Linked DNA regions of Homo sapiens: region 1 is linked to region 2. The links are contacts of gene promoters, found by promoter capture Hi-C in blood cells and fetal thymus (Javierre and others, 2016). All regions are on one chromosome and are shown on one strand. Each heading gives the region's core, a stretch centred on a gene start or on the middle of the fragment in contact. The rest is flanking DNA. Distances are from core to core; before and after follow the strand shown. Region 1 holds the start of PABIR3 (PABIR family member 3). Region 2 holds the start of ENOX2 (ecto-NOX disulfide-thiol exchanger 2).

Region 1 (5,837 bases), core at 2,889-5,388, 3.9 Mb after region 2:
TCCTCACCACTTGAATGGCCCTGGGGAAGAGAAGGCCATTGCATTGAAATGTAATAGTTCTGAAATTGCTTTCAAAATTCAGCCAGAAATAATAATTTTGCCTGCCTCTTTTCAATTATCCCATACTAAACTTGCCAAGGCCAATTATCATTTTATTCCTCACTGTTTATGCTTTCTGCCTGCAGTATGAGGGATTTGTAAGTACTTTTAGATAGTTTCCTTTAAATTGCCTGTATTTTTCTCCCAGCTAGATTAGAAACAACAACCTCTGTTTTTGAGCAACTTAGGTATCTCTTTTTATCTCAAGGTCTCAGCAACCCTTAAGGCCAGCCCCACCTCCTACTCCCTGCTCAAAAGAAATTATAATACATTCTTTTGTTCACAATAGCTACTAAACAATCATTTGTTGACCACATGCATGCACTGACCTCAGGAGCTTAACAATTTAGGAGAACGCGAGGAGAATAATGCTACTTTGGCCATCATTTCTAGGTTTTATTAACATCATTCTTGCCTGCTAGTTTTTTTTTTTTTTTTAACCTTTCATGTAAATCTTTTGGGAAGGTTTGGGGTGTTTGTGGTTTGTAGATTTGGGTTTGACTTGTATTTGACTTGCTCTTGTGGTAACTAAAGGTTACAACGTAGCTTCAAGGTTGTCATGACAACTGGTAAAATAAAGAGCTGATTATCACATGTTTGTTGGTTCCCTTTTATAGGTGAGGGCCTGGGACAGACGCAGCAGACTGGGATATGCAAAGAGAGGAGTAGCCTAATTGTCAAGTCTAGATCTAACAAAAGCAGTGTCCCAAGATCATGGCATATTTCCCTGGAACTGGAAGGACTGATCAAGAAACACAGCTAGGTTGGTATAATAATGTGTGCGTAGAAATGGGGAGAAGTAAAAACAATTTCTTTAATGTTGTGTTTGCCATTGTAGCATATAGAATTCTTGCTGTTTTTGTATTACTTGTTCCTTTTGATATTCCAATTTGTGTATGTACTATGAGTCCTATTTATATCTTTACAGGTTTGGGGTTCCTGACATGTAGCTGTTCTTTTGTAAAAGAGAGCTCCTTCTCTTTGATAATAGCTGTAAACTTATTACCATCTCATATATTTAGTTATTTCATATTACTCCTTTTCTTAGAAACATAGTCCCTTAGTCACTCTTCCCTTGTCATTTTATTATACCTATTTTCTTAGTGTTGTTGTACTTATTTAAAAATTAGATACTTGTAATGCTTAGGCAGGATGAAATTTTGTCTATTTATTCAAAATATACGTATGAAACCTTACTACCTGCCAAGAATACTAGCAAAAGTTGAAAATTAAAATGAACACAATGGAGGTAAGATTCCCTTGTTCACTGGCCTGCTTCATATTTTTCTGTTATTCAGACAATTTGTTTTTTGACTCTGTTCTGTCTTTAATCACTGCCTTCTGCATTCATCCTGAATTTACTCAGCTTTAACCACCATCTTTTATAAACGTTCAGGTACCCTGGGAATTTTAACAGTGGCTTTTAGGACATCTTGATACTAGCCTGAATTCTCCTGCTATCTAATTATGTGCCATTAATCTCTTTGGAATTTTATCCAACTGTAAAATAGAAATGATTTACCTACTTTACAAGATAACTATGAAAGATAGGCTATTTAAACCTGCATTTATTCATAAAATAATTTCAGAAGTATTTATCAAGTGCTTATGAGTACAGAAATTCAAGGAGATATTCTGAGGCATCTCATTTTTTTTTTTACTTAAACAGAAGGGCAGAGGAATCTTGGCTTTGCCACTTAGTAGTTGCAACTTGAGTAAACCCCTCTGGGCTTTGGTTTCCTCCTGTGAAAAATGGGCATTGTGATGGTGCCTACCTCAAAGAATTATTGTAAACTTTAAATGCAATCACCTATTTAAAGTGATTAGGACAGTACCTGGCACATAGTAAGTGCCCAACAAACGGTAGCTATTACTAATCTGTCTTATATAAGGAATGGAGACTCCACATCATCCTCATGTCTGGGATTTAAGTAATCTAATTCTGCCTAATATACTCAAGTTTGTCTTATTCTATTCCCAGAATGAACAAAGAATACATATTTATTACCTTACATGTCATAACTTGTCACGAACTATCTCAAGACTGTCCCATTATTTTAAGTTCACCACTGGGTAGCTGAGCAGGGTTGATGATTGAACCAATCCAGATAAGTATGTGAAAACATTTTGTAGGCCAGGCGTGGAGGCTCATACCTGTAATCCCAGCACTTTGGGAGGCCGAGGCGGGTGGATCACCTGAGGTCGGGAGTTCGAGACCAGCCTGACCAACATGGAGAAACCCCATCTCTACTAAAAATACAAAATTAGCTGGGAGTGGTGGCACATGCCTGTAATCCCAGCTACTCTGGAGGCTGAGTCAGGAGAATCGCTTGAACCAGGGAGGTGGAGGTTGTGGTGAGCCAAGATTGCGCCATTGCACTCCAGCCTGGGCAACAAGAGCGAAACTCCGTCTCAAAAAAAAAAAAATGTTATCCGTAAAGTGCTATACCAGTGTTATGACTATTTTAATTAATAACTCCCATTTCACTAGGTTTATTTGCCTTGTCTGCCAGTTCTCTATATGGTTACTAAAATGTGTGGTTTTACAAAATTATTAGCATGGAGTTAAGATTTCAGTACTCAGTGTGGCTCATTAAGTGATGGTGAAAATTTCTAAAAGAGTAGTTCTTAAAACGATATGAGCCATGGCAGCATTCTTAGAATGTATGTAGCTTCTAATACTACCTGAAATGAAAACACTGATTTGCATTGATACTAAATTCTGAGATATTTGTTTTTAAAAAAGCCTCACTGCTTTAACTCAAATCTTTGTAAATTAGCTGAGGTCTTTATTTTTTATATGAATAGCTGTGAGGAGCCAGATTATATATAATGTAAAAATACACACTGAGGCAGGCGCGGTGGCTCACGCCTGTAATCCCAGCACTTTGGGAGGACGAGGCGGGCGGATCACCTGAGGTCCAGGAGTTCGAGACCAGCCTGGCCAACATGGTGAAACCCCGTCTCTACTAAAATACAAAAATTAACCAGGCGTGGTGGCGAGCACCTGTAATCCCAGCTACTCGGGAGGCTGAGGCAGGAGAATCGCTTGAACCTGGGAGGTGGAGGTTGCAGTGAGCCGAGATCGCGGCCACTGCACTCCAGCCTGAGCAACAAGAGCGAAATTCCATCTCAAAAAAAAAAAAACAAAAAACTGTACGATTATGGTTTAAAAAAGAAAGAAAGAAACCACACTGAAAACAGTAATTCGTTTGCCAAATGAGCTCAGTTAGGTTAGCACCTTAGCAAGACCCTTTGGGACCAAGTGGCCTCTAAGCACTTAGGTAGCAGTATCTTTTTTTTTTTTTTTTTTTCAGACTTTTGCTTTTCTAAAATTACAAAGGTGTAGTGTGTCTGCTGTTACAGGATGGAAAAATGCATCATAGGAGGTTAGAAGCTTGTTGGCCTCAGTCATAAAGGGATAAGAAAAATGAGAATTAGGCATAGGGCAGGAAGGACCTCACTCCTCCCAACGCTTTCATTTCTAAATAATGCTTAAGGAAACCATGCCAGGGTTAGTAAAAGAGTAGAGGCACAACCACGGTAAGTGGGCATTGGGGAAAGAGGAAGGAGGGCAGGACATGGGGATAAAGCGGTTTCTTAACTGCGCGTGCGCCCCTGGCAAAGCTGACTAAGGCGCCTGAAGTGACGTCATTGCCTGCATCACAACAGGCGTCGTCCGGCTGATAGCTTATCGCAGGCTCTGAGGGGCGGGACCCAACTGATTGTCAAAGGCGGCAGATTGTAGTTTTTGTTTTGGCCGGAAAGGCTTACCATGAGTTGCCAGGGCTGAGAGAGATGGAGAAGGATTCGCGGCGGTGACAGATTAAATTCCCCAGTTACATTATAGACTTGGAGGTGGGGGATCTTCTCATCGTTAGAGGCCCCGATCATGGGAGATAGGCGGTTCGGAGCCAGTTCTGCCTAACTTTGTGTTCACTGATGTTAGGGCTGCTAGGGCTGCAAAGGTGGGCACCCCTACTCGCCTAAGAGCTTTCTCCTCTCTTCTCTTTTTCCCCTTTGCCTCTCTCCTTACATCACCTGCCCACTAAGTAGACTTGTCCTTGTGTGGACGGGAGCCGGAAAGCCTTGAGAACTTATTCCTCGACCCGGACATGGCACAGGAGAAAATGAAACTAGGTTTCAAGTCGCTGCCGAGTTCCACTACCGCAGACGGCAACATTCTGAGAAGAGTCAACAGTGCCCCTTTGATCAATGGACTTGGGTGAGCCGGGTTGAGATACTGGAGGAGGCAAGCGGTGGGGAGGAGGTGTTCGGGAAAGTGATTTCCTATAGAATTCCCGTCCCTTTATTTGTTGAGGTTCTGCAGGTAACTCCCTTGTTCCTGGTGTCCGGAGATCCCACCCTCAACCTTGGGTGGGGGTAGTGGGACGGGCTGACCTGAGGGGGAGCGCGCACCCACCCTGAGGTTGACAAACATCTGAATCTGAACATCCTCCCCTGATAGTCCACTCGGACCCGAAAGTAGCAGCCAGTTGGTGTGGAGCACGGCTTTTTTCTAACTTCAACCCATTTCTTACCCACTCCTTTGAAGAAACTTAGTATCCTCCCCCACTCACCTCCAGATCTTCTGCCATGACTGTAATATTTGTCATTTCAGCTGCTTTGTCACCTCTGACCTTCACCTCCAGCCGCTTGAATGGAAATGGTTGTCAAGCAAATAAGCTTTGGACTTTTTTACATTTTTTTTTTTGTCTTTTTTTGAGACGGAGTCTTGCTCTGTCGCCCAGGCTGGAGTGCATTGGCACGATCTCAGCTTACTGTAACCTCCGCCTCCTGGCTTCAAGCAATTCTCATGCCTCAGCCTCCCTAGTAGCTAGGATTACAGGCGCCCACCACCACACCTGGTAATTTTTTGTATTTTTATTTTTTATTTATTTGTTTATTTATTTTTGAGACGGAGTCTCACTCTGTCGCCCAGGCTGGAGTGCAGTGGCGTGATCTCGGCTCACTGCAAGCTCCACCTCCCGGGTTCACGCCATTCTCCTGACTCAGCCTCCCAAGTAGCTGGGACTACAGGCGCCCACCAACACTCCCGGCTAATTTTTTGTATTTTTAGTAGAGACAGGGTTTCACCGTGTTAGTCAGGATGGTCTTGATCTCCTGACCTCGTGATCCGCCCGCCTCGGCCTCCCAAAGTGCTGGGATTACAGGCGTAAGCCACCGTGCCCGGCCTAATTTTTTGTATTTTTAGTAGAGACAGGGTTTCACCATGTTGGCCAGGCTGGTCTCGAACTCCTGGCCTCAGGGGATCCGCCTGCCTCAGCCTCCCAAAGTGCTGGTATTACAGACGTGAGCCACTGCTCCTGGCCTACACCTATTTTTTATTGGAGCAGAAAGTTTTGGTACCACAGAAGCTTGATCTCCTAAATTACACATTCTCACTGGGTGATACTTCCCCCAAGGGGAAGAGAAAATAGTTCTTGGGGGAGTGTGAAAAATTTTTACTCTTTTTATGTATAAAGCGCAGATATACATACAGTATGTACACAGATATATACTATATATGTGTTATTAAAATTTCACGAAGGGGGAGCAATTAGGGGAAAAATGTCTAAAAAGGCTTTTTAGAGGGTCAATAATGAAAAAAGGATTTAGAAACACTACACTAAATGATGGTTAACTGTATTTCTGAAGATCTGGGATTACTAAATCTTGTTTCCTTTTTTTTTTTTTTTTAAGACGGAGTCTCACTGTGTCGCCCAGGCTGGAGTGCA
Region 2 (6,066 bases), core at 1,409-3,908:
GCACTCCAACCATGCTGAATTCTTCCACATTGAATGAACATGCCCTACTCTTATACAGCCACACATCTTTCACAGACTGACTCCTCTATCTGAAATGCCTCCCCTCCACTCCTTCCCTGCCTGGGGCAAACTCACTATCCTTCAAGACCTATCTCATGTCACCTCCTCATGGAAGCCTTCTCCCCGAGTCTCCCTTACAGTGAGTCACACCTTCCTTTATCCCTCCATAGCATTTTGTACCTGTCTCTGTTATACTACACACTACAGTATCTCAGAACTGTGGGCATCCAGCTCCCCAGCTAGACCCCAGGAAGAGTTCACACCTTGTACTTCATTGTTTCTCCAACACTTCACGTGGGCAGAGGTCATGAAAGAGATCTAGTGTCCCAGGTAACTTCTTAAAATGCTAAAATAAAATACATCCAAAGTGCTATCAAGGTCCAAATAGCTTAGAGGTATGATATGTGTTATAAAGAGAATCATCTAATTCAGAAATAGCCGTACTGACTATGGTTTTGGCAGACACAATTAGCTACAGTTGCAATGACAGTTAATTTGGTTTTGGCAGCTACTTTACAGCAAATACATTCTGACATAGAAATTTTAAGTGAATCATTTGGGTTTTGGCCAGGATGATGAACTATACCTATCTCTCCTTACCACAACTGGAAAGTCAAGAACAAGAAAGAACATTGGGAGCAGCAAACCATGTTGAACAGAGCATGGGCTTTGGAGTCAGAAATCTGTACACCCAAACCTCAACTCAACTTATAATCTATGTGACTTTAAGTAGATTGTTTAACTTCTGTGCATTTTAGTGTTTTCTTCTAGAAAAAGAAACAGGAATAATAGTACCTACTTCATAACACTCAAGATAATGCAACAAAGTATTTATGATGATGACTAGGACATTATGTGGGTTCAATAAATAGCAGTCATTATTGTCACCCAATGAGATGACTACAGTTCAGATAATGTGATGCACGGGGACAGCAAATGCATTTCTTAAGAAAATATATCGATGTCTCTAGGCTTTAAAGTTGACAGCTATAGACTGTAGCTAAGAATAGCTACAAACAAAACATCTGCAAGACAAGCTTCTTCTTGGATTTAAACTCACACCTGGAACATACCATCACACTTCTTTGTGTTCTCCAAGAATTGATCTCAAATCAGGTTCCCTAGGATGAAAAGAAAAATCATCCAATCTTAATTTTTGCCTTCAATTTTATTTGATACAGAATAATATCCAAACTATGTGTATGTTTCAAAGTATCATGTTATTATGACCCCAAGCTTCTCCACCCTATTTATTTCCCAGTATATTTGTGCTGATATCTTTTATTCCAATCAGGCAAGCCCACCTGTCTCACAGTGCTCCCTCTTCTGTTTACCCTTCTCAAAGTCCAATCTCAGTAGCAGGAAGCATTTTCTCCCTCCTCTTTGACAACTTCAAATCCCCTGTACTCTGCTGGAGCCCAGATTAAAATTCACCTCCTTCACAAAGCCTGAAAGCCGGATGAGGGCTTCAGCACTTCCCGGGTTAGGCTTGAACTTCCATAGATGAACTCACCACCCCCATCAGTATGCTCTTCCACTGACCCCTCTTAGCGTTTTTTGCACACGTTTGTAATAATACAATGATTAATATGGTCTGTTTCACACGGTCTACTTTATTCTGTAGAATAAAGGTGTGCCCCCTAAATGTTTGTCAACATTAGTGCTATCAGTCTTTGCTGGAAACCCCTAAAGCGCTGGATTTTTATAACCAGTCTAACTTGCCTTTTACTCTCACCAGAACCCTGCACTGAACCTTAAACACACATTTCTCAAAAGCAAGATTCCTTCCCTCTTTTGCTTCCCATCCCTTCTAGAAATTGAGGGGAAACTCTCCCCACTTCAAAGACCTGGTGGGGGAAGTGGCAGGTGGCTGAGGGGCCAGTAAAGAGATGGCGATCAATTAAGGAGGCAAAAAGAGAAAGTTTGAAAAAAAAAAGTCACGCCCTGAGCGTGGCAAGGAATTCCCATGCCCCAAAGAAAATGGGGAGTGTAGCGCAGGGAGGGTTATGTGCCCAAACCTGAAATACAAATTGAGGGAAAAGAGGAAAGAGATCACCCAATTCCTGCGGTAAGAATTAGAGTCCAGTCACCGCCTAGGCAAAACCCTGGACGCAAACCCCAACTTCGGACCTCTGAGGAGGCACAGAGCCAGGGGGAGGGGGGCGGCGTCGTGGGAAAAAAAAAAAGGGGCGGGCGAGTTGGACCAAAAAAAAAAAAAAAAAAGAGCAAAGACAGCGCGCTCCCGGGCTCAAGAGAACTGGCGCCTAGAGCTCAAAAGCCCACCCCCGACTCCCAGTCCCGATACCCCCTCCCCTGCAGAGGTGGAGCTGGGTGGAGTTAGGCGCTGAGGACCGCGGCCCCGGAAGCACCCTCCTCCCTAGGCCCCCTCAGTCCCACAGTCCCCAGCCACGGCCACCGGGGCTTTCTGCCTCTCTGACCTCCAGCTCCCCGGCTACCGAAGCGCTAGTCCTTATACAGCCGCGGAAAATCGGGCCGGCGCGGCAGTTCCTGGGCTCGTAGTGCCCTCGCGGCGCCCCACGCCGCGCCACTCTCTTCCGAAATGCCCGCCTCGCGCTTCCAGGCCTAGACCCGGCACTCTGGCCCAAGGCTGGACTCTCACACACAGGGTGCCCACTGCGGCGTCTCCTATTGGCTACTGGTCACCGGGGAAGCCGGAGGCCCGAGCCCATGGCTTCATGGGAAATGTAGTTTGAGGTCGCTGGAGGCTGTTCTTCCTGGGGGTAACTCGTGTTGACATTGGCAGACAGACACAAGTGAGGACCGAGAATTATGGGAGATGGAGTTGCGGGACACTTATTTCTCTATACGCACAATTCTTCCCCTCCCCTTCCGATTGTCCCCAGCGTTCAGACGGGGAAGGGTATTCTGGGTATTGTAGTTTGGGTGCACTGTCTAGAGAATCTCTCTTGGGGTTATGGGTTTGTGCTTGTGGGGACAGACGAAGGCTCTAGATTTATTTTCATGTCGGTTAAGCTCTTAGCATTTTGCGGGAAGCACTTTCTATCGTGATTTGAAATTGTTATTGAGTTTTAAGTGTTTTTCAAAAGATGATGTTTATTCTTTGGTAAGCTTAGAATTTTAATTGAGAGTTATAGTCCTTTAAAATTGTTAAAGTGTGTTCCTTGTGAACCACCTGCATTAAAATCACTTGAAAGGTATGGAAGAATGTATATATTTTTTTCTAATTGGAAATTATAGTTCCCCCTGGAAACAGTGTCATAAATAGGCATAGAAATGTGATCTACACCAGCCCAGAAGAAGCCTATTTAATCCATAATGAAGCTATGTTGTTGCCATGAAAAACAGTGGCCACATAAACTGCTATAAATAACAATTTAGAACAGATAGACAATACAACTTAAGTACAAACGAGTAACTATATGTGTCTTTAAGAAACTTAACCTTTTGAGTAAAAATATGTTACAAGAGCTGGATAAAGACATAGGTGGGGAATGCCAAGCACTTCCAAGTGACTTAAAGGTTGAGGAAAATGGTTGTTTATTAGGGCTAATTTCACTCCCAACTTTTGACCTTTTTTTTTCTCTGTTAGAGATGAATCCTTGTAGCCTTGTTACAGTTGAATTACTACAACTTCTTGATGAGGACAACTTTTCGACTCACGAGTAAAATGAAGGGAAAGACAGGGGAATTGCATTTTGCTGAGGTAATTGCCCAATATTTTAAAAAGATAAGTGAAGGAGGAAGACGATTTAATAAATTCAACCATTTATTCAGCATAGTGCTTTGTGCAAAGCTCTGGGCTAGGCACTGTTGCCACAGAATTGGAAAAATAGTCCCTACCCTCAAGTAGCTCAAAATCCAGGTGAGGGGAGTTGTAGTAGAGGAGAATCTGGGGGGAGGAATAGATGAGTATACAATGTGCAAAATGCTGTAAAGAAGTCTACATAGGGTTCTATAGGAACATAGAGGAGGAAGAACTTGTTCTACTTCTGGAGAACTGGTTGAAGAACCAGTAAAATATTTGTCAGATTTGGGGCAGGGAGGTCAACCATATTCTATACAAAGCATATGCAAAGGCATAAAGGCATGAAAGAGTGCAGAGAACAATAGCAAAAGTTCCATATTGCAGAGACTAGATCAGGCAGCAACAAGGGGTCATATCAATTAGTTCATAATTTAACTTGAAAGTGGGAGAGAACCATCAGAGGAATTTTTGTGCTTATATAGTGTTTATTTTTTAAAGCATATACACATAGAACATACTGGGAACACATAGCTAGGGTATTATGGGGAATCATTCTGGAGGGTGGTAATTGAATTGCTATATTATGTTTTAATACTTTTTATACTTTTAAATTCCTCCAGGAAAATAATTTGCTTTTTTAAAAAAAGAAAAATCGGCTGGGTGCCGGGGCTCATGCCTGTAACCCTAGCACTTTGGGACACCAAGTTGGGAGGATTGCTTGAGCCCAGGAGTTCGAGACCAGCTTGGGCAACATAATGAGACCTTGTCTCTACAAAAAATCAAGAAAATTAGCCAGGCATAGTGGCGCATGCCTGTAGTCCCAGCTACTCAGGAAGCTGAAGCAGGAGGATCCCTTGAGCTTGGAAAGTTAGGGCTGCAGTCAGCCGATATTGTACCACTACACTCGAGTGTAGTGGGTGATAGAGCAAGACTCTGTCTCAAAAAAAATTAAAAAATTAAAAAAAGAAAGAAAAAAGAGAAAAAGAAAAATCACCTCATTTCAGCCATAAAAAGGAGTGAAACAAGGCATTTTCAGTATTATGGCCACCAGAAAAACATTGTGTGAATCAAATGCAGAATTTCTTTTCTCAGCTTTGTCTCCTTTCTTTTTATCTTTTTTTCCATGACTCTTTACTTTGATTTGATCATTGATTTCAAAGTATTTGCAGAGCACCTACTATGTTCCATACACTATGACAGGTTTTGGGTTTTAATGGTGAGTTAAAACATGGGTTCCTGTTCATCAAAGTATTTCTAGCAGGAAATGGAATAATCAGATGGAGTTGGTAGATGTGGAAAGTGAGAGACGGGGAGGAGTCCATTACGACTCCCAAGTTCTGACTTGGAAGACTAAGTGTATGGTAGTACCATTCACTGAGATATTGAACCTAGAAAGAATAGCAAGTTTTGTGAAGAATAGGAGGAAATCAGTTTTGAACATTTAAAATTTGAAGAGTCTGTGGAACTTTTGGTTGGAGATGCCTGATAGGCTGCTGAGAAATGCCGGTCGGAAGCTTGGGAGAGAGGTCTTGCTTGGAACTAAACATTTGGGAGACATTAGTATAATATAGAGGGCAATTAAATAAGTGAAAAATTGTTTAAACTTTACTTAGAGAGTATTTTTTTTTTTGAGACGGTTTCTTACCCTGTTGCCTAGGCTGGAGTGCAGTGGCACAATCTCGGCTCACTGCAACCTCTGCCTCCTGGGTTCAAGTGATTCTCCTGCCTCAGCCTCCCGAGTAGCTGGGATTACAGGTGCCTGCCACCACAGCTGGCTATTTTTTTTTTTATTTTTAGTAGAGATGGGGCTTCACTGTGTTGCCCAGGCTGGTCTCGAACTCCTGACGTCAAGTGATCCACCCGCCTCAGCCTCCCAAAGTGCTGGGATTACAGGCGTGAGCCACTGTGCCCAGCCAATTTAGAGAGTATTTAGAATAATAGTTTTTAAAAAGACAAAGATTATGGAATCCTGGAAAATAATGATATTCAAGTAGCAAGTAGAAGAAGAGATGCCTTCCAAGGAAGCTGAGAGGGAATGCCCAAACAGATGAACCAAGAGAAAACAAAGTAGAATTACTGGCATATATTACAGAGAGGTCAAGTAGCAGGACAGAATAGTAAGAAGAAATTACTCCTTCATCAATATAACAAGTTTTTATTGAGTACCTATAATGTGCCAGACATTATTCTAGATGCTGGGAATAGAGAAGTGGAAAACACATACAACATCCCTTCCCTTTGGAGGCTATATTCTGTTAGGAAGAAGCCATCAACAAACA

Evidence for each region. Contacts are between HindIII fragments. The CHiCAGO score rates a contact against its expected background, and 5 or more counts as called.
Region 1: a fragment that was not itself captured here is called in contact with the fragment with the promoter of ENOX2 in region 2 in 4 of 17 cell types (non-activated CD4 T cells, total B cells, total CD8 T cells and 1 more); the score reaches 15.7 in non-activated CD4 T cells.

Annotation. Positions count from the first base shown.
Region 1 is chrX:134,803,385-134,809,221 of GRCh38, forward strand. It overlaps PABIR3 (PABIR family member 3), which reads left to right and starts at 3,853. Exons shown (of 11, transcript NM_001388447.1): 1 at 3,853-3,957; 2 at 4,156-4,324. The coding sequence starts at 4,215. RefSeq lists enhancers at 4,210-4,369, 4,755-5,711. The HindIII fragment of the contact is 1,289 bases long and covers 3,495-4,783 here.
Region 2 is chrX:130,900,551-130,906,616 of GRCh38, forward strand. ENOX2 (ecto-NOX disulfide-thiol exchanger 2) reads right to left here and starts at 2,659. Exons shown (of 15, transcript NM_006375.4): 1 at 2,499-2,659; 2 at 1,134-1,181. RefSeq lists enhancers at 2,025-2,544, 2,405-2,674, 2,545-3,064, 2,685-2,874. The HindIII fragment of the contact is 1,854 bases long and covers 1,295-3,148 here.